Regions from separate parts of the Homo sapiens genome. Here regions 1, 2, 4, 5 and 6 are each linked to region 3. Evidence: promoter capture Hi-C in 16 types of primary human blood cells and fetal thymus (Javierre and others, 2016). All regions are on one chromosome and are shown on one strand. The core of a region is centred on a gene start or on the middle of the fragment in contact, and the rest is flanking DNA. Distances in the headings are between cores, read along the strand shown.

The links. Contacts are between HindIII fragments. The CHiCAGO score rates a contact against its expected background, and 5 or more counts as called.
Region 1: a contact is called between a fragment that was not itself captured here and the fragment with the promoter of LDLRAD4 in region 3, in 3 of 17 cell types (naive CD4 T cells, erythroblasts and activated CD4 T cells). The highest score is 7.2, in naive CD4 T cells.
Region 2: a fragment that was not itself captured here is called in contact with the fragment with the promoter of LDLRAD4 in region 3 in 1 of 17 cell types (fetal thymus); the score reaches 7.9 in fetal thymus.
Region 4: the fragment with the promoter of MC5R here is called in contact with the fragment with the promoter of LDLRAD4 in region 3 in 1 of 17 cell types (naive CD4 T cells); the score reaches 5.1 in naive CD4 T cells.
Region 5: a contact is called between a fragment that was not itself captured here and the fragment with the promoter of LDLRAD4 in region 3, in 4 of 17 cell types (endothelial precursors, activated CD4 T cells, naive CD4 T cells and 1 more). The highest score is 7.4, in endothelial precursors.
Region 6: a contact is called between a fragment that was not itself captured here and the fragment with the promoter of LDLRAD4 in region 3, in 7 of 17 cell types (naive CD4 T cells, non-activated CD4 T cells, activated CD4 T cells and 4 more). The highest score is 20.7, in naive CD4 T cells.

Annotation. Positions count from the first base shown.
Region 1 is chr18:13,763,544-13,766,419 of GRCh38, reverse strand. RNMT (RNA guanine-7 methyltransferase) reads right to left here. Exons shown (of 12, transcript NM_003799.3): 12 at 1,864-2,876. Among named protein-coding and RNA genes, the nearest start is that of RNMT, 38 kb to the right of the region's middle. The HindIII fragment of the contact is 4,622 bases long and covers 1-2,876 here.
Region 2 is chr18:12,698,928-12,701,800 of GRCh38, reverse strand. It overlaps CEP76 (centrosomal protein 76), which reads left to right. Exons shown (of 12, transcript NM_024899.4): 2 at 688-843; 3 at 1,896-1,971; 4 at 2,598-2,822. It also overlaps a transcript of PSMG2 not described here. Among named protein-coding and RNA genes, the nearest start is that of CEP76, 2.4 kb to the left of the region's middle. The HindIII fragment of the contact is 2,094 bases long and covers 560-2,653 here.
Region 3 is chr18:13,217,510-13,220,275 of GRCh38, reverse strand. LDLRAD4 (low density lipoprotein receptor class A domain containing 4) reads right to left here and starts at 1,516. Exons shown (of 7, transcript NM_001378100.1): 1 at 1,288-1,516. RefSeq lists a silencer at 2,356-2,725. The HindIII fragment of the contact is 2,786 bases long and covers 1,346-2,766 here.
Region 4 is chr18:13,822,856-13,825,555 of GRCh38, reverse strand. It overlaps MC5R (melanocortin 5 receptor), which reads right to left and starts at 1,407. Exons shown (of 2, transcript NM_005913.3): 1 at 1,282-1,407. RefSeq lists silencers at 1,203-1,292, 1,303-1,592, 1,558-1,738. The HindIII fragment of the contact is 16,860 bases long and covers 1-2,700 here.
Region 5 is chr18:13,779,705-13,782,404 of GRCh38, reverse strand. No RefSeq gene overlaps it. Among named protein-coding and RNA genes, the nearest start is that of MC5R, 43 kb to the left of the region's middle. The HindIII fragment of the contact is 803 bases long and covers 891-1,693 here.
Region 6 is chr18:13,746,553-13,749,447 of GRCh38, reverse strand. All of the region lies in intron 9 of RNMT (RNA guanine-7 methyltransferase), which reads right to left. Among named protein-coding and RNA genes, the nearest start is that of RNMT, 21 kb to the right of the region's middle. The HindIII fragment of the contact is 2,304 bases long and covers 176-2,479 here.

The DNA.
Region 1 (2,876 bases), core at 132-2,631, 550 kb before region 3:
TTTTTTCTTTTTTTTTTTTTTTTTTTTTTTGAGATGGAGTCTTGCTCTGTTGCCCAGGCTGGAGTGCAGTGGCGTGATCTCAGCTCACTGCAACCTCCACCTCCCAGGTTCAAGAGATTCTCCTGCCTCAGCCTCCTGAGTAGCTAGGATTACAGGCATGCGTCACCATGCCCAGCTAACTTTTGTGTTTTTAGTAGAGATGGGGTTTCACCATGTTGGTCAGGCTGGTCTCGAACTCCTGATCTTGTGATCCGCCCACCTTGGCCTCCCAAAGTGCTGGGATTATAGGTGTAAGCCACTGTGCCCAGCCTGCTTTTATCTTCTTTGATGCCCTTGAGGGTTTGACTGTGGTGTAACTGGCAGTGCAGTGGGGTGTGCGTGTGTCAGCAGAGGTCAGGTACTGGTGGGAGCAGGATAGTGAGACCACCCATGGATGCCGGCAAATGGTGCAGGGAGGTTGTGGTGGGAGGAGGCTGTGGGTGTGTGGGTGCCCACCGGTAGAGGCCAGTCTGCTGGAGCTCTCTAGCAGTTAGGTATGGTTGGCCTGTAAAGGAGCTTTGTTGGCCGCCACTGGGGAGCACCCTGATTGGGCATCTGTGGCTGCACTGCAAATGGGCATGGCCAGGAAGGGACCCCCAGAGAGGTCAGCAGATTAGAGGAGCAGGGGCACTCAGGTAGACTGGCCTTGTCCCAAGGGCAAGACCACCCTGCTCTGTCCAGGTCTGACAGTTGACAAAGCCAAAGTCACCCAGAGGAGTGTGGTGAGCCCTAGGGGATGGGTGTCCTTGGTTGCACTCTGCTGTAGCCATTCCCGTGCCAAACCCTCTGGGTTCTGCAAAGGCTGGAGTCCTTTCCCCGCCACTGCTCCGAACAACTCTCCGTCAGCTTAAATGTCCGTAGGGGTTGTGGGGTTTCCTGCAGTTAGGATTCTGGAGGTCCATGGTGAGAGTGGGTCACTCGCCTATTTAACTCACCCCTTACCCAGGAGCCACTGGGGACCAGGAACAAATCCTAGTGCTCACCTGCCCTGGGCAGGGTTCCCAGCTTCCTTCCCCTTGAGCCCAGTGTCTGTATTTTCCCTCTGTCCACTCTCAACACCTTCCTTCCAAAGGTCTGCTCAGAGTGTGCCAGTTTTCTTGATGGTCTGGTCTCTTGGTGAGAGATGCTCTTCCTGGCCCCATCTAGTCAGCCATCTTAGCTCCCTCCCCAACTCTCTTAGATTTCTCCAAGCATTATTGTACTGATCTTCAATGTTCTGGTATTCCTGTTTCCACTTCCTGGTTCTGGAGTGTACTGGTATCTTCCCTACACATCTCCCAACACTTGCAGGTAACAGGGTGACAGAGCAAAGGCAAAGGAGCAGTAGAGAGTAACCGAGCAGTGGACATGTAGGCATAGAAGACAAAGGCCCAGTGAGATCCTGCAACATTTGCTTCTGATGAGGGCCTCAGGCTGCCTCCACTCATGGTGGAAGGCAAAGGAGAGCTGGTTGTAGAGATCACATGGCGAGAGAAAGCAAAAAATGGGGGAAGTGCCAGGCTCTTTTAAACAACCAGGTGTCATTGTTGTTAATCGGCAACAACAATTAACTTGTCCTTGGGAACTAACTGAGCAAGAACTCACACTCCCACCACCGCAAGGCATTAATCTATCCATCAGGGACCCGCCCCCCGACCCAAACACCTCCCATTAGGCCCTACCTCCAACACTGGGGATCAAATTTCAACATAAGATCTAGAAGGACAAACATTCAAATTGTAGCACATTCCTAAGCAGAAGTATGTACCTATGTGCACCAAAATTCATGTACTAGAATATCTGGATCAGTACTAGTTTCCAAATGGTAAATGAACCAAACAGCTGTCAGATAAACAGTATGTGGTTTATTCACACAATGAAATATTATACAACCATGAGAATGAAAATCCATGTACAAATACATGCAACAAAAATCTCACAAACATAATATTGGTGAAAAGAAACCAGATACGAAGAATGCATAATTCCATTTATATATCTCCCCAAACCAGACAGAACTAATCTATGCGCTTAGAACTCAGGATAGTGGTTTCCCTTGGAGAGGTAGTTAACTGGAAGGGAATCTGACGGGGGGCTTCTGGGGTGCCGATTGTATGCACGTGCTCCACTTGTGAAAAATCATTGATGTGTTTCTATAGTTACACTTTAATAAAAAGTTAAACAAAATGATTTGCCTCTGTCTGGATACTCGACTCAAAACTGAAAAAAATGTCTCCTTTGCTCTCAGCCTCTCACTTTGGCTACACTCTCGTACTGGCATTCTCAGCTCCTGCCACTTGCAAATGGTGAGGGTGGGAAGAGAATCCCTCTCCCTGCCATGCAGGCTAAACTAGATTTGCTACAGGTTGGGCTGCTAAAGAAGGTGGTCTACCAAACTGAAATTCAAGTCTTATCTCTGCTTCCTGCCAGTGCACTCAAGTGCTGTCTTGCTCTCTCTAACCCCCTCTTTCAACAAAGCCCCTTACTCAGAAATAAACACTCCTCTCAGGGAACATCTAAGTAAGTATCAACGTTTTGAACCAAAAGAATGGAGCTCTAATAGTTAACATCTCAAGCTGCAGGTGGTGGATGGGTGAGGAGTCATCTGGGCTGACACCCGTGGAGGTATATAACAAGCACTTGGAGGGCAGGCCCAGCTTGAGGAGGGGGTGTGAAAATCCTGGCTCTCCTTTGGGCAAGTCTGTATCCTCTATGACTCAGTTTCCTCATCATTAAAATGGGAATAACGGTGCTGAGATGTTATAACAATCAAAATGAGTTACCACAGGTGAAGAATTTAGCAAAGTGACTGACTTAGGTAGGAGGCTAATAAACATTAGCTGTCAGCTCAGCTTTGT
Region 2 (2,873 bases), core at 357-2,856, 520 kb after region 3:
GAACCAGGAGCTTCAATCAGCAATTCTCAAATAAGTCATGGAAGAGAAGTTACTAAAGGGTTTGTAATGACGGAATTTGTTAATATTTCGGAGCTCCAGAAGAACCTCCAGTTTCTGCAGCGCTCGCTCGACTGAGTGCAAGATGCTGAAGTGATAAAAGCGACCATTTATGGTGCCCTTGTGTGCCAGGCTTTGTGCTGTCTAGTATCTTTAATCCTCACAACACTATCGTGAGAGGGCACTACACTAGGTTTTTCCATTCTTATCGGTGACGAAACAGATTTATAAAGGGTAAATAAGTTGGCTTGAGGTTACACATCTACTAAGTTGAAAGCTGGTAAGATTCCCTTATCATTAGGCAGATCAAAGTATGAAAGTAATAAGATCATACTTTGATCTGCCTACTCCCAGTCCGTGTTCTTCTGATTATACTATACTCCCTCTCAGAAGATTCCTTTTGGTTGAGTGTTGTTTGTGGAGAAATGGTAACAAAGGTGCCAGATAACCAGTGGAGACTATTTCTAGAATTTGTACTCAAAAGATTCATTCTTTAAAAGCTTACCTTTGTTCCCATTCAATTGTGGTAACAATTGTGCATTTACTGTTAGCTGGAGAACCTTAAAACTTCAGAAGCAGTATTTGACTGCTTTGTGATGTTATAAATTGTAATATGAGTTTTCTACATAGATGGATGTCCATGGTAGAATAAGAGAAATCCTTGCTGAGACTATACGGGAAGAATTGGCACCTGATCAACAGCATTTATCAACAGAAGATTTGATCAAAGCCCTTAGACGTCGAGGAATCATTGACGATGTGATGAAAGAACTTAATTTTGTTACTGTGAGTAATCTTTTAGGGAAATAAATGAGAGTATATATGTATATACTAATGCGTAACACTACTTATAAGGTTCCGATGTGGGGCCTTTCGTTTTAGTAAAACCACTTCAAGGTCATTCTGTTTACTAGTGTCCTTGTTTCAAGTATAGGCTAGCTCTGCCCTTGAATATACTGAATAGTTTTGTGTATCAATGAAATTTGTGTTAGATATCTTATTCCTGTCTCTACAGTGACAGAATTTTCTCTTATTTTCTAGGTCTGTAAATTTGAATATACATACTTTAGTCCAATTAGTTCACCATAACAAAGTTCTTTTTCATTATGATCTGTAACTTTTTTAGATTAAGCGTATTTTTAAAATAAGCACTCTTTTGGGATTATATTCTCTATGATTAACAAATTACAAATTTCTTTAAGAAAATAATTGACTGCATAAGAGTCCTCAAATCTTTTAATACAAATAGGTCAATAATGGGATGATAGTCTCTCAGTGCACAATTAGTAAGTAGGCCTTCATTTGAAAGTGAGGCAATAATGGAAACTGTGACCTCAATACCTGGGTAATATAATGTGAAAATTGGATGGACTTCATAATACAATAGGGAATAAGTATTTTAATACAGCACCTTTTTTTGGTTTTTGAAGTTTATGAACCCGTTTGTTATAAAAATTGACCTAATAACAGCTTCTACTCTGTGATGACACTTTATTAAAATCAGCTCATAGTGGAATTATAAGCCAACTGTTACATAAGGTTTACAGAAAGTTTAACCTTGTTGAAGGTATTAAGGATTTGTTTTTAGCTTTATGTGGATAGTATTACTTGAAGACAGTTTAATTCCTTAGCATTTGATTTTAGGAGTGATCAGTTTACATCATCTTTTATGCAGGCTTTTATTTTCATTATTTTAATTAGGCTAGGAAAATAAGGGGTTCTTTGAAAGGGCCTTACCCTGTTGACTTTAGGTTCAGTGCTTAGTCATGTTTATTGACATTTCCTTAACCTATAATTGTTTTCTAATTTGTTTTGATTTTTTTTTCCTGCCTTTCTAGGACAGTGTTGAGCAAGAACTCCCTTCCTCTCCAAAACAACCTATTTGTTTTGATAGACAATCGACATTAAAAAAAAGTATGTATATTTTAACATTAATTTAGTTGTGGTTAATAGTAAATATTGATGTGGTGTAGTCTTTCGTATTTGATAGAAGACATTTCCATTTTTTCCCCCCAAAATAAAATACTTAAAATTTTATGGTTGGCTAAAACAGATTGTTTTGCATGAAGTATATCAGAAGAGTTAATGTATAGCACGGTAGAAGCAAAAACAGCATCACCAGTTTCTTGTGTTTTAATAATATGTTTTATAAAAACTGTACAGCCTTGCTTTTAAATATTAATATAATTGACAAATACACTTGCTGAATTGATAATTATATGAGTTGGTTTGTGAAGGTGGAGGAATGTTGGATAAGCAGTTAAAAAGCAAAAGTATACTACATATTGGCTCTGATGCCTTTTCCAGCTGGGAGAAAGTAGCCTGGATGTAAACTCAGAAAAGAATATCATATTTTGTGTATCTTCTCCCCAGAGTGCAAATGATTCTGGCATATACAGTAATAAATTTGTTACTCTTTTGCTTTTTTTTTAGTCTTTGGTATTGGGTTTTTATCTGTCAAGTTTTTATTTCCTAATGTCTTGATCACATTCTTTTAAGTTATTTGGCAGTTTCCTCATATATATTGCTACACTTTACAGCTAATATTGATCCAACACGGAGGTATCTTTACCTTCAGGTTTTGGGTGGAAAAGCTTTCTTGGAACATCTGCAAGAACCTGAGCCTTTACCTGGACAAGTTTGTTCAACGTTTACTTTATGTTTACATTATCGAAACCAACGTTTTCGTTCTAAACCTGTTCCATGTGCCTGTGAACCAGATTTTCATGATGGCTTTTTACTTGAAGTACACAGAGAAAGCTTGGGTAAGAAACAGTAATAAATTGTCATTTAATTGAGTAAATCTTTGTTATGTT
Region 3 (2,766 bases), core at 267-2,766:
GCTACAATTCCATTACAGCAAATCCCTTACTGGCATTTACATTCCCAGCCCTAATTCCTAACACTGTGTTCAATGTCAATAGCAAAATGAAGCTCTTAAAAAGAATTAAGCTTTCAAAGATCATAAGGAAGTTAGCCCCCTGTTTTAAAAAGCACTGCTTAGAAAGGTCCATCAAATAACATTTCAAGGGTTGATGGGAAACCAAATATAATTCAATAAATATACATGGGTAATACTCAGACATCCTCATTTGTCTATGTAATGACTCAGATTTGACACTCTGATCCTTGACTGAACACAAAGACTATATTCCAGAAGAATTGTGCAGAGTACAAAGGGAGAGTTACAGATGACAACACACTCGAGTTAAAGACTAGAAAAGACAATACCATATACAGAATGCAGACATGACTTGATGCAATGGCAGTCTCCCTGTGCAGACTTTGCAGAACCTTCTCTGTCATTCAATACTCAGTCCTGAAGCTCCAGGGAAGATACAGAGAGGAGGATGCCATTCTTGGCTAGCCAAACCGGCAGAAAGGGCCGTTTTTAAAAGGAAGCTTCCCAGCACTAGCCCTTCGAGAAGGCACCAACCTCCTTACCAGCCATAGGACCCTATTTTTGAGAGTCAATGCTGCTCACCATCTCTATCCACCTCTACTGCAAATAACTTACTAATACTAGCGCTCAGAACCCACATTCTGTGCAGCTACTCTTACCTCACATCCTACAATGCCTAACACATAGTAGGCCCTCAATAAATATGTATTGCAATGGTAATTAACATTTAGAAAGCAGCGCTGGTCCGGGGATGAGAAGATGCCAAAATAATTAGAAAAGAGAAAAAGAGAAGGGAATAGACCAAGACACAGAGGAAAAGAAAAGAAGCAAATCAAAATTATCTAATTCTAGCTAATTAAAAAATTTTGGGGGAAAAACAAAAATCATGCTAGTTCATGCGGCTATGGGCACACAGCAACCATTCCTGTGCCTGGGCAGAGCTAAGGAGTCCTGCTTGCTTTAAAGAGCTTCTAGCTGCCCTGACTGGCGACGAGGTGTCCCTCCAGGTAGGTGACCCAAGAACGCTGTACTCTCGGATGCGCCTTCCCCCAGTGCCGCCCACCCACCATGCGTCCCTGTCGTCCTGAAAACCTCTGCCTCATCGGGAAACCTTCTCCTTTTCCAATTAAAAAAAAAAAAAAAAAAGTTTAAACAAGCAAATGCCCTCTCCGCCACGATAGCGATTTAACCTAAACCGAACCCACTGTCTTCCACCGGTGTACTCACAGGGCGCGCCCCCAGGCCCACCCGGGGCGGCGCACCGGGAAGGGGTCCCGAGGAAGCTTCCTAAAGGCTGTGCAGGGCAGACCCCTTCACAAAGGCAAGTGCCGGGCCGGGCTGGGTGCTTGTCGCTTCCTGTTTATTCCAAGGTGAGGGGCAGAGAGAAATTCAACACACGCCTGCTTCCTCCGGGGCTCGGAGACCCAGCCTAAGTGCAACAGCAGCAGCCCCAGACAATCGACTTCCCAGCCAATGCCGGGAGCTCCGGGCGGTCCCGCGACCGACGTCAACGCGCGCGGGGGGACCCGGGGGGACGCCGGGTGAAGCGGGCCCGAGGGGCCGGGGCCGGGGAGCGCGCGGTGCAGGATGCGGGACTGAGGGGCTGCGGGGCTTGGCCCGCCCCCTCCTTCCCGCAAACTCCCCGGTCAGGTCCTGCAGGATCTTCCCGCTTCCCGCTGACCTCCAGTCCCTGCCCGCCACGGCTCGCCGAGGCCTAGGGGCGCGGAGACAGTTGGGGCTGCCATCCGCGCGCCCATCCTGGCCTCCGGGCGGTGCAGAATTCAGTCTTGCAACCGCGGGACACCCTGCGCCCCAGGGCACCAGGAAACAGAAAACGGGGTGGGGGTCGGCGAAGTCCCTCCACCGGCGTAACCCCGCCCGCGGGCCAGCCCCGGATCCCCGCCGTGCCCACCGGCAAGCCCACCCGGACCAAGCCTCACAGACCTCGCGCGCTCGGCGCCCAGCTTCTCCCTCCGGCCCCAGCCGACGGCGCAGGCTCGCGGACGTCCAGTTCCCAAAGCGTCCGGTTCCCGAGTCCCCCGCCACCCCTCCCTCCGGAGCGCAGCGGTGAACTTGGGCCAGAAGCCCCGACCACTGCGGCCACCTCGGGTCCGCACTCACCTGGGCCGCCCCCCCGGAGCGGAGGCGGGGACTGCCCGCAGTGCGGCTCCGCGGCCACCGGCCCTGCTGGCCAGGGGGAGGGGCGCTGTGCGGGGCGCGGCAGGGGGCGCGCGGCGGGCCGGCGGGGAGCGCGGCGCGCCGGGGTTCTTTAAGAGCTGAGGACCTCACCCCCGGGCCTCCCCCGCGCTCCCCGCCCTGCTTCCACTTTCCCAGGCACCCGCAGCCTGTCTGGCTGCAGCGGCGGCAGCGGCTCAGTGGCTTGCAGGGGATCCCCGGCCGGCCGCGGCGGCGCGCGGAGCGGGCAGGGCCAACGCACTCGCCTGCTAATCCCGCCGGGCCCGGTCCGCAGCCTCAGCGCGGGGAGAGAGGGGACGCGGCGCTGCGGCCGCCGGGGAGGTGTCCCGCCTCCAGTCGCCGGAGGGGGGAGTGTCCCGCCTCCCGCCGCCGTCGCCGCCGTCTGTCTCCAGCCGTGACTGCGCGCCGCGGCTGTGTCTGTCTCCAACTCCTCCAGTCTCTCCTCCTCCTTCCCACTCCGCGGTGGGGACCCGGCGCGCGGCCAGGCCGCGGGTACCGGGGCCGCCGTGG
Region 4 (2,700 bases), core at 158-2,657, 610 kb before region 3:
GGTCTCCCTATGTTGCCCAGTCTGGTCTCAAACTCCTGGCCACAAGCGATCTTCTCTCTCAGCCTCCCAAAGTGCTGGTACTACAGGGGTGAGCCACGTGCCCGGCAGCTGGCTTGCACATTCTGACCTGCGTTCCTGAGACCTGGAAGAGTGCCCCTGGACACGCAGATTAGAATCTTCACCAGCCTCTTCTGCTCTCCTTGCTTTCAGCTCCCAGCCTTTCACATGCATCTTACTAGAGAGACACTCACCTCCAAGTGCCCAGGACAGTTTCACTTTTTATGGCTTCTCTCCTGGGCTCAAGTTCACTATCATAAGTGTCCCCAACTCATAACCTACAAAATCCCAGCCAGTCTCCCAATGTTCACATTCCTAAGGCTACTGCACGACATTCTCCTCAAGGGAGCTCCGATTTAAGACTGCCCAGACCCGTATTCCCTTAAGACAGACAGACAGGTGCATCCCTAACACTTGTCCTGACACTTCTTAGACCCATCAGGATTCAGCCTCCACAGCTGTAAGTAAGGCTATAACCAGAATGGTCTGTTACCCTGAGCAAAGTCACATGTTAAAAGCTACTGTCTTAAGTTTGTAAGTGTAGGCTGCACATACGTGTTAAAATTGAGGAAAACAGTGCTGCTTTTCCCTCAATACCTATTTTTCCCTCGCTTCTGCATTATGTGGAATTCCATGAGGTCTGCTTGATAGTTTATTAGGTCCGCGTGAGCACAGTATTTAAAAAAAAAAACAGCAATTTAAATGTACCACACTCCTTTGTTGCAAAATTTCTCTCTTATGATTCATTTTCAAAAATCCCTTTGCCCTCCAAACTCAGATCACATCTGGAGAGAATTTCTGTCATCACTGTCATCATTAATATTTGTAATCACTTTGGGAGGGAGGGAGGGGGTGAGGGACAACAAATTACTTAATAGGTACAATGTACACTATAGGGGTGATGGCTACACTAAAAGCCCAGTCTCCACCACTATGCAATACATCCATATAACAAAACAGCACCTGTACCCCCTAAATCTATAAAAATAAAAAAGGAAAAAATTGGTAATCTAAGCATTTATTGAACTACAATCATTTGTTACAGCTGAGTTCCAGCTCAGATATATCGGTAAATTATGCAATTATACTAAACATCATATCGAGCTGTGTTAAAAACTCACGGGGCAAGCTAGCTGCCGCCCCGCTCACTTCCACATGCAGCGGAAGCGCGATTTTGCATTTATTCTCAGGATCTCAAGGAGATAGAAAGTTGTGGCTATTTACCGGTGCTCCTCCTCGCGGGCCGCGGCGCTCAGCCCGGGCCCCCGGCGTCCCCGGGATCCGACGGCCGTGCGGCGCTCAGAGCCAGCCCCGGACGGGCCTCTCCCCCAGCTAGGCGGCTGCGGCTCTGCGGGGCTTTAAGCCTCCTGCCTGCCCGCGCCGGGCCCGCCTCCGCACCGCCGGCTGTCGCTCCGGGCGGCCTCCGCTGCCACCTAGTGGCCCAGCACGGCACAGCGGCCAGAGAACCGCGTCAGCCCCGAGCGAAAATCCCCCCGAACACACTCTTGAATGGTTGGATGGTTGCTTGGTTGGTTGGTTGGTCGGTCGGGTCGGTGGGTCGGTCGGTCGGTCGGTCGGTCGGTTGAATGGTTGGTTGGGTGAGTGGTTGCTTGGTTGGGTAGTTGGTTGGTTGAGTGGGTGGGTGGGTGGTTGCTTGTTTGGTGATTGGTTGGTTGGGTGAGCAGGTGGTTGCTTGCTTGGTTGGTTGGGTGGTTACGGGTTAGTTAGTTGGGTAGGTGGGTGGTTGCCTGATTGGTTGATTGGTTGATTGGTTAGGTGAGTGGATGGTTACTTGGTTGCTTGGCTGGTTGGGTGGGGGGTTCGTTGATTGGGTAGGTGGGTGGTTCCTTGGTTGGTTGATTGGTTGGTTGGGTAGGTGGGTGGTTGCTTGGTTGGTTGATTGGTTGGTTGGGTAGGTGGGTGGTTGCTTGGTTGAGTGAGTAGATGGTTACTTGGTTGCTTGCTCGCTTGCTCGCTTGCTTGGGTGGGTGGGGGGTAGTTGGTTGGGTAGGTGGGTGGTTGCTTGGTTCGTTGATTGGTTGCTTGGGTGGGTGGGTGGTTGGTTGGGTGAGTGGATGGTTGCTTGGTTGGTTGATTGGGTAAGTGGGGGTTGGTTGGGTAGGTGGGTGGTTGCTTGGTTGGTTGGTTGGGTCAGTGGGTGGGTGGGTGGTGGGTGGTTGCTTGGTTGGTTGGTTGGGTCAGTGGGTGGGTGGGTGGGTCGTTGGGTGGGTGGTTGCTTGGTTGGTTGGTTGGGTCAGTGGGTGGGTGGATGGGTGGTTGGGAGGGTGGTTGGTTGGTTGGTTGGTTGGCTGGGTCAGTGGGTGGATGGATGGGTGGTTGGGTGAGTGGTTGCTAGGTTGGTTGGGTCAGTGGGTGGGTGGATGGGTGGTTGGGTGGGTGGTTGCTTGGTTTGGTTGGTTGGGTCAGTGGGTTGGGTGGATGGGTGGTTGTGTGGGTGGTTGGTTGGTTGGTTGGTTGGGTCGGTGGGTGGATGGATAGGTGGTTGGGTGGGGGAGTGGTTGGTTGGGTCAGTGGGTGGGTGGATGGGTGGTTGGGTGGGTAGCTGCTTGGTTGTTTTTCTGGCTGGTTGCACTTTTTGTTTCTTTTCTCTTCCTCTTGAGCACTGATTAAAATGCTCCCGAG
Region 5 (2,700 bases), core at 43-2,542, 560 kb before region 3:
TATCAGATTAAAGAGGCTCCCTTCTATTCCAGTTTTACTGAGTGTCATCATGAAGGGATGTTGGATTTTGTAAAAATGCTTCATCTATTGAGATGATTATGTGGTTTTATCTTTCATTCTATTAGTACAGTGCAATATATTACTTTTCAGATATTAAGTCACCTTTGCACTATGGAATAAATTCCACTTGATCATGGTGTACAATTCTTTGTATATGCTGCCGCATTCTGCTTGTTAGTGATTTGTTGAGGATCTGTGCATCTACATTTGTAAGAAATATTTGTCCGTAGGTTTTTAAAAAATAATGCCCTTTTTTTGCCTCTGATATGCAAATACTATCTTCATAGAATGAGATGGGAATTGTTCCCTTCTCCTTTCTATTCTGGAAGAGTTTATAAAGGGTTAGTATTATTTCTCTAAATGTGAGAGAAATCACCAGTGAAACCATCTGGGCCTGGGCTTTTTTGGTGAGATTTTAAGGCACTGATTACCTTTTTTTACTAGTCAGATTTTCTCATTCTTCTTGAGTCATTTTTAGTATTTTGAGTGTATTTTTATCTTTGGAGAAATTAGTCTATTCCATCTAAGTTGTCCAATTTGTTGACCTAAATATGTTCATGTTATTCCACTATAGTCCCTTAATTTTTATAAATTTGATAGTGAAGTCCTCTCATTTCTCATTTTACTAATTTGTCTTTTTTTCTTGATCAGTCTAGCTAAAGATCTGTCAGTTTTGTTGAATTTTTTAAAAAACTAATTTTTAATTTCACCAACTTTCTCTATTGCTTCTCTGTTATCTATTTCATTGATTTTTCACTCTAATCTTTATTATTTGCTTCTTTCTTCTTGTCTTGAGTTTAGTTTTTTTTCCCAGTTACTGAGTGAAAGCTTAGTTTATTGATGTGACATCCGTATTTTCTAATATGTATTTGTAGCTATAAATTTCCCTCTAAGTACTGCTATCATTGCATCCCATGTGTCTTGATGTGTTTTTTCCATTCCACTTAATATATTTTGTGATTTCTCTCTTGGTCCATGAAAATAAAAGTGTATTAATTTCCAAATATTTGTGGATTTCCCAAATTTTCTTCTTTTATAAATTTCTGTTGTGGTAGAAAAATATTGTATATGATTTTAATACTTTAAAATTTATTGACATTTGAATTTCTTTGATAGTGATGTTGAGCATTTGTTCATATACCTGGTGGCCAGTTGTATGTCTTCTTTTGAGAAATGTCTATGCGTATCCTTTGCCCACTTTTTTTTTGAGATGGAGTCTTGCTCTGTTGCCAGGCTGGAGTTCAGTGACATGATCTGAGGTCACTGCAACCTCTGCCTCCTGGGTTCAAGCGATTCTCCTGCCTCAGCCTCCTGAGTAGCTGGGACTACAGGTGCCCGCCACCAAGCCCGGCTAATTTTTTGTATTTTTAGTACAGATGGGGCTTCACCATGTTAGCCAGAATGGTCTCGATCTCCTGACCTCGTGATCCACCCGCCTCAGCCTCCCAAAGTGCTGGGATTACAGGCATAAGCCACCGCACCCGGCCCCTCTGCCCACTTTTTAATGGAATTCCTGTTGAGTTTCTTGTATATTCTGGATATTAGTATTCTGTTGAATGAACAGTTTGCAAATATTTTCTCCCATTCAACAAATTGTCTCTTACTCTGTTATTTCTTTTTGTGTGCAGAAGCTTTTTAGTTTAATTAAGTCCCATTTGTCTATTTTTGTTTTTGTTGCCTGTGCTTTTGAGGTCTTAGTCATAAATTCTTTGCGTAGACCAATGTCCAAAAGAGTTTTTCCTAGGTTTTAGTATTTTTAAAGTTCCAGTTATTACATTTAAGTTTTTAATCCATCTTGAGCTGACTTTTGTATATGATGAGAGATAAGGGTCCAGCGCCATTCTTCTGCAACTGGCTCTCCAATTTTCTCAGCACCGTATTGAAGAGGGTGCCCTTTCCCCAATGTAAGTTCTTGTTGGCTTTGTTGAAGATGAGTTGGCTGTAAATATGTGGCTTTATTTCTCAGTTCTCCATTCTGATCCATTGGTCAATGTATCTATTTTTATACCAATATCCTGCTGCTTTGGTTACCAAAAACATAGAATGGATGATTACATTCATATCTCATAAACCCCTTGTGGCTTTCCATTGACTTCAGAAAAATATCCAGACTTTTTCCACCACCTACAGGGTCTTACATTACCTGGTCCCTGCCTATCTCTATGCATCCATTATATAACACTCATCACTTTACTCAATTAACTCAAATAACTTACTCTCATTTTCTGAAATTGCAGTCTTATTCTTGACTTAAGCTTTTGCATTTGCTATTCTCCTAGACTGGGGCATTCTTGCCTTATATGATTATTCGGGTCTGAGCTCAAATGCTACCTCTTGAGATCTTCTCCAACAATCAAACCTATTTTCTTTCTTTCTTCCCTCCCTCCCTCCCTCCCTTCCTTCCTTCCTTTCTCTCTTTCTTTCTTTCTTTTTTTCTTTTTCCCAAGATGGAGTCTTGCTCTGTTGCCCACAGCTGGAGTGCAGTGGTGCAATCTTGGCTCACTGCAACCTCCACCTCCCCAGTTCAAGCAATTCTCCTGCCTCAGACTCCTGAGTACCTGGGATTACAGATGCGCACCACCACGCCCAGCTAATTTTTGTATTTTTAGTAGAGACAGGGTTTCACCATGTTGGCCAGGC
Region 6 (2,895 bases), core at 78-2,577, 530 kb before region 3:
CCTATTTATTTGCTGTTTTAGAAGTACTCAGCTATTTGAGACTGCTGTATCATTAGCATAAACCACTTTACTTTGTATCACATCCCAACAAAGGGCTCTAAGAAAGAACAGATTACCAATCAGTTTTTTTTGAACTTTAATTCCACATATTGTAGTTTTACCATATCACAAAGCTTCAGAACTTCGTTTTTGAATGCCTGTCAAACTATTTTGTTGTAAACTTGTTCTTCAACTTATCCTCCATGTGATTATCTGCTTATCACTGGACACCCAGTTTCTCTTCTCTACTGATCATTTTGAAAGACCAACCAATACATGATTATAAAGCTGTAAAACATCGTTATTTTTTAAAATTGATTTTATTTTTTGAGATGGAGTTTCAGTTTCGTCACCCAGGCTGGAGTGCAGTGGCGTGATCTTCGCTCACTGCAACCTCCACCTCCCGGGTTCAAGTGATTCTCCTGCCTCAGCCTCCTGAGTAGCTGGGATTACAAGTATGCACCACCACACCTGGCTAATTTTGTATTTTTAGTAGAGACGGGGTTTTACCATGTTGGCCAGGCTGCTCTACAACTCCTGACCTCAGGTTATCTGCCCGCCTTGGCCTCCCAAAGTGCTGGGGTTACAGGCATGAGCCACCATGCCGGGACCAAAACTTATTAAAACATATATATCTTAGTGTCTCCTCTAAAAGGAGTTACTTTTCCAGAACTGTCCCTAGAATATGTTTGCTGGTGAAAAAAAGAAAACAGGTGTCAGGACCTACAGTTCCATGGCCTACATCTTTTCATTCTTTCTTCTCTCTGTTCCAACGCTCCAGGAAAGCAGAAAAGTTGTACTGGTTCTAGTGCTGAACCCAGATAAAAGCTGGATGCTTCAGGAAAAGACTTTTTGGGACAAATATCAAGAAACAGATCCATTTAAACCTCTGACCTGGTCGAAAGCAGTGGCATCCGACTGCTCTTTCCACCTCTGGTCTGGTCTCAAAGTCCCTCCAAACCATCCCCCATTATGCCACCCAAGTAGTGTCCTAACTCTTATCTGGTCATGTCCTTTCCTGCTCCAAGTCCTTTACACGCCCACCAGAGTGACTTGGTCAAGAAGTAGGAAAACCAAAGGATTTTTCAAACTACATGCTATTACTGCTTCTGTCCCCAGACAGCCATGGTAACAGGTCATATCCCCAAGTGCAGTACTGGGAGAGAAGGAAGACTGCTGAAGAACTGTGAAGGCCATTAGCACTACTTCCTCAAACATCTCCTGTGCACTCTGGTTTCTCTGCCTGTCCTCTACCAATCTTCTTCCTTCCCAAAAGGCCCTTTATATACTCACTGCACTTGGAATGCTTCAATACTGCAGTTCCCATCATGGACTGCATTATTCACTGAAATAACATGCCATAAAATTCTTGTTATCCCATACCCTACCATACCTAAGTAGATTTTGACATACATTACACAAGTGAATTCACTACCCATATGCTAAGAGAAAGGCTAAATAATTGACCACTATCATGCAAAGCACCATCAAATAAAGGCAATATGCTAAAGATATGCTGTATATGTGGGACAGGGGGACTTATCCACACATAGTTTTGCTAGTTTTCTCCTCTTCCTTAAGACAAACAAAACAAGCATCCATTCCTAATATAAAGCCAATAAAAACATTCTTAGATCTAAAGTATAGGAAATATAACTAATGAGGAATATGAAATTTTACTGATTATGTCTCTTAAAAGACAATTTAGAATTTATAAAAAGTCCTCCCACTCAACATTGTGGGAGTGGCTGGGTGCAGGTGCAACTTCAACAGGAGACTTCTGTTTGAGTATCATCTACAAAAACTGAAGAAAATCTAAAGGTTAGTATGCCTTGAGCAAGTCATTATCCTCTGAGCCTCAGGCTGCCCACTAAAAAAATGTGAAAACTGGCCAGGTGCAGTGGCTCACACCTGTAATCCCAGTACTTTGGGAGGCCAAGGCGGGAGGATTGCTTGATGAGGCCAGGAGTTTGAGACCAGCCTGCGCAACACAGCAAAACTTCATCAGCACAAAAAGTTTAAAACTGAGACAGGTGTGGTGACACACGCTTGTAGTCAGTTACTCAGGAGGCTCAGGTGGGAGGATCACCTTCCAGAAGGTGAAGGCCTCAGTGAGCTGTGATCACATCACTGCACTCCAGCCTGGGCAACAGAGCGAGATCCTGTCATTAACAACAAAAAAAAAAAAATAGGAAAAAAATTAGTGAAAAGTTACCATTCTGCCTACTTCATGGAGGTAATTATAAGGATAAAGAAGTCAGAGTATGCTTAAAGTACTTAAACTGAATAAACTCTCTAAGGAAGTTTAATGTCCATTTGATGAATATGATTCTACTGATCAATAATAAAAATGCTCACTGAATATTTTAGGTCTGTCCAACCAAACATTGTCTGGTAAGGAGAAAAAGGAAAAACAATCAATGGCTGTGTAATTGAAGCTTATATAGATACCTTCACTGCTGCATTAGGACAGGAGAGGTCTCAGCAACAACACAGTCTAAAAGACTGGAACCCTGCTAAAGAATTACCATGCAATAAAATTATGTATGGTTTGAGCTTGTCTGGACACTGGCCAGGAAGGTTCTAAATTACTGTCGTAACCAAAAGGCACTGTTGTAAAGAACTGGTTCTCAACTTGGGGCAATTTTGTCCACCAGGGGACATTTGGCAATGTCTGGAGAGAGTTTTCTGGTTATCGTAACTGGGGACAAGAGTGTTACTGGAAGGCATCTAGTGCGTAGAAGCCAGGAATGCTACTGAATATCCTACAATGCACAGCATCCCACAGCAAGGCATTATCCAGAACAAAATGTCAACAGTCCTGAGGCTGAGAAATCCTATTTTAAAGCAGTACTA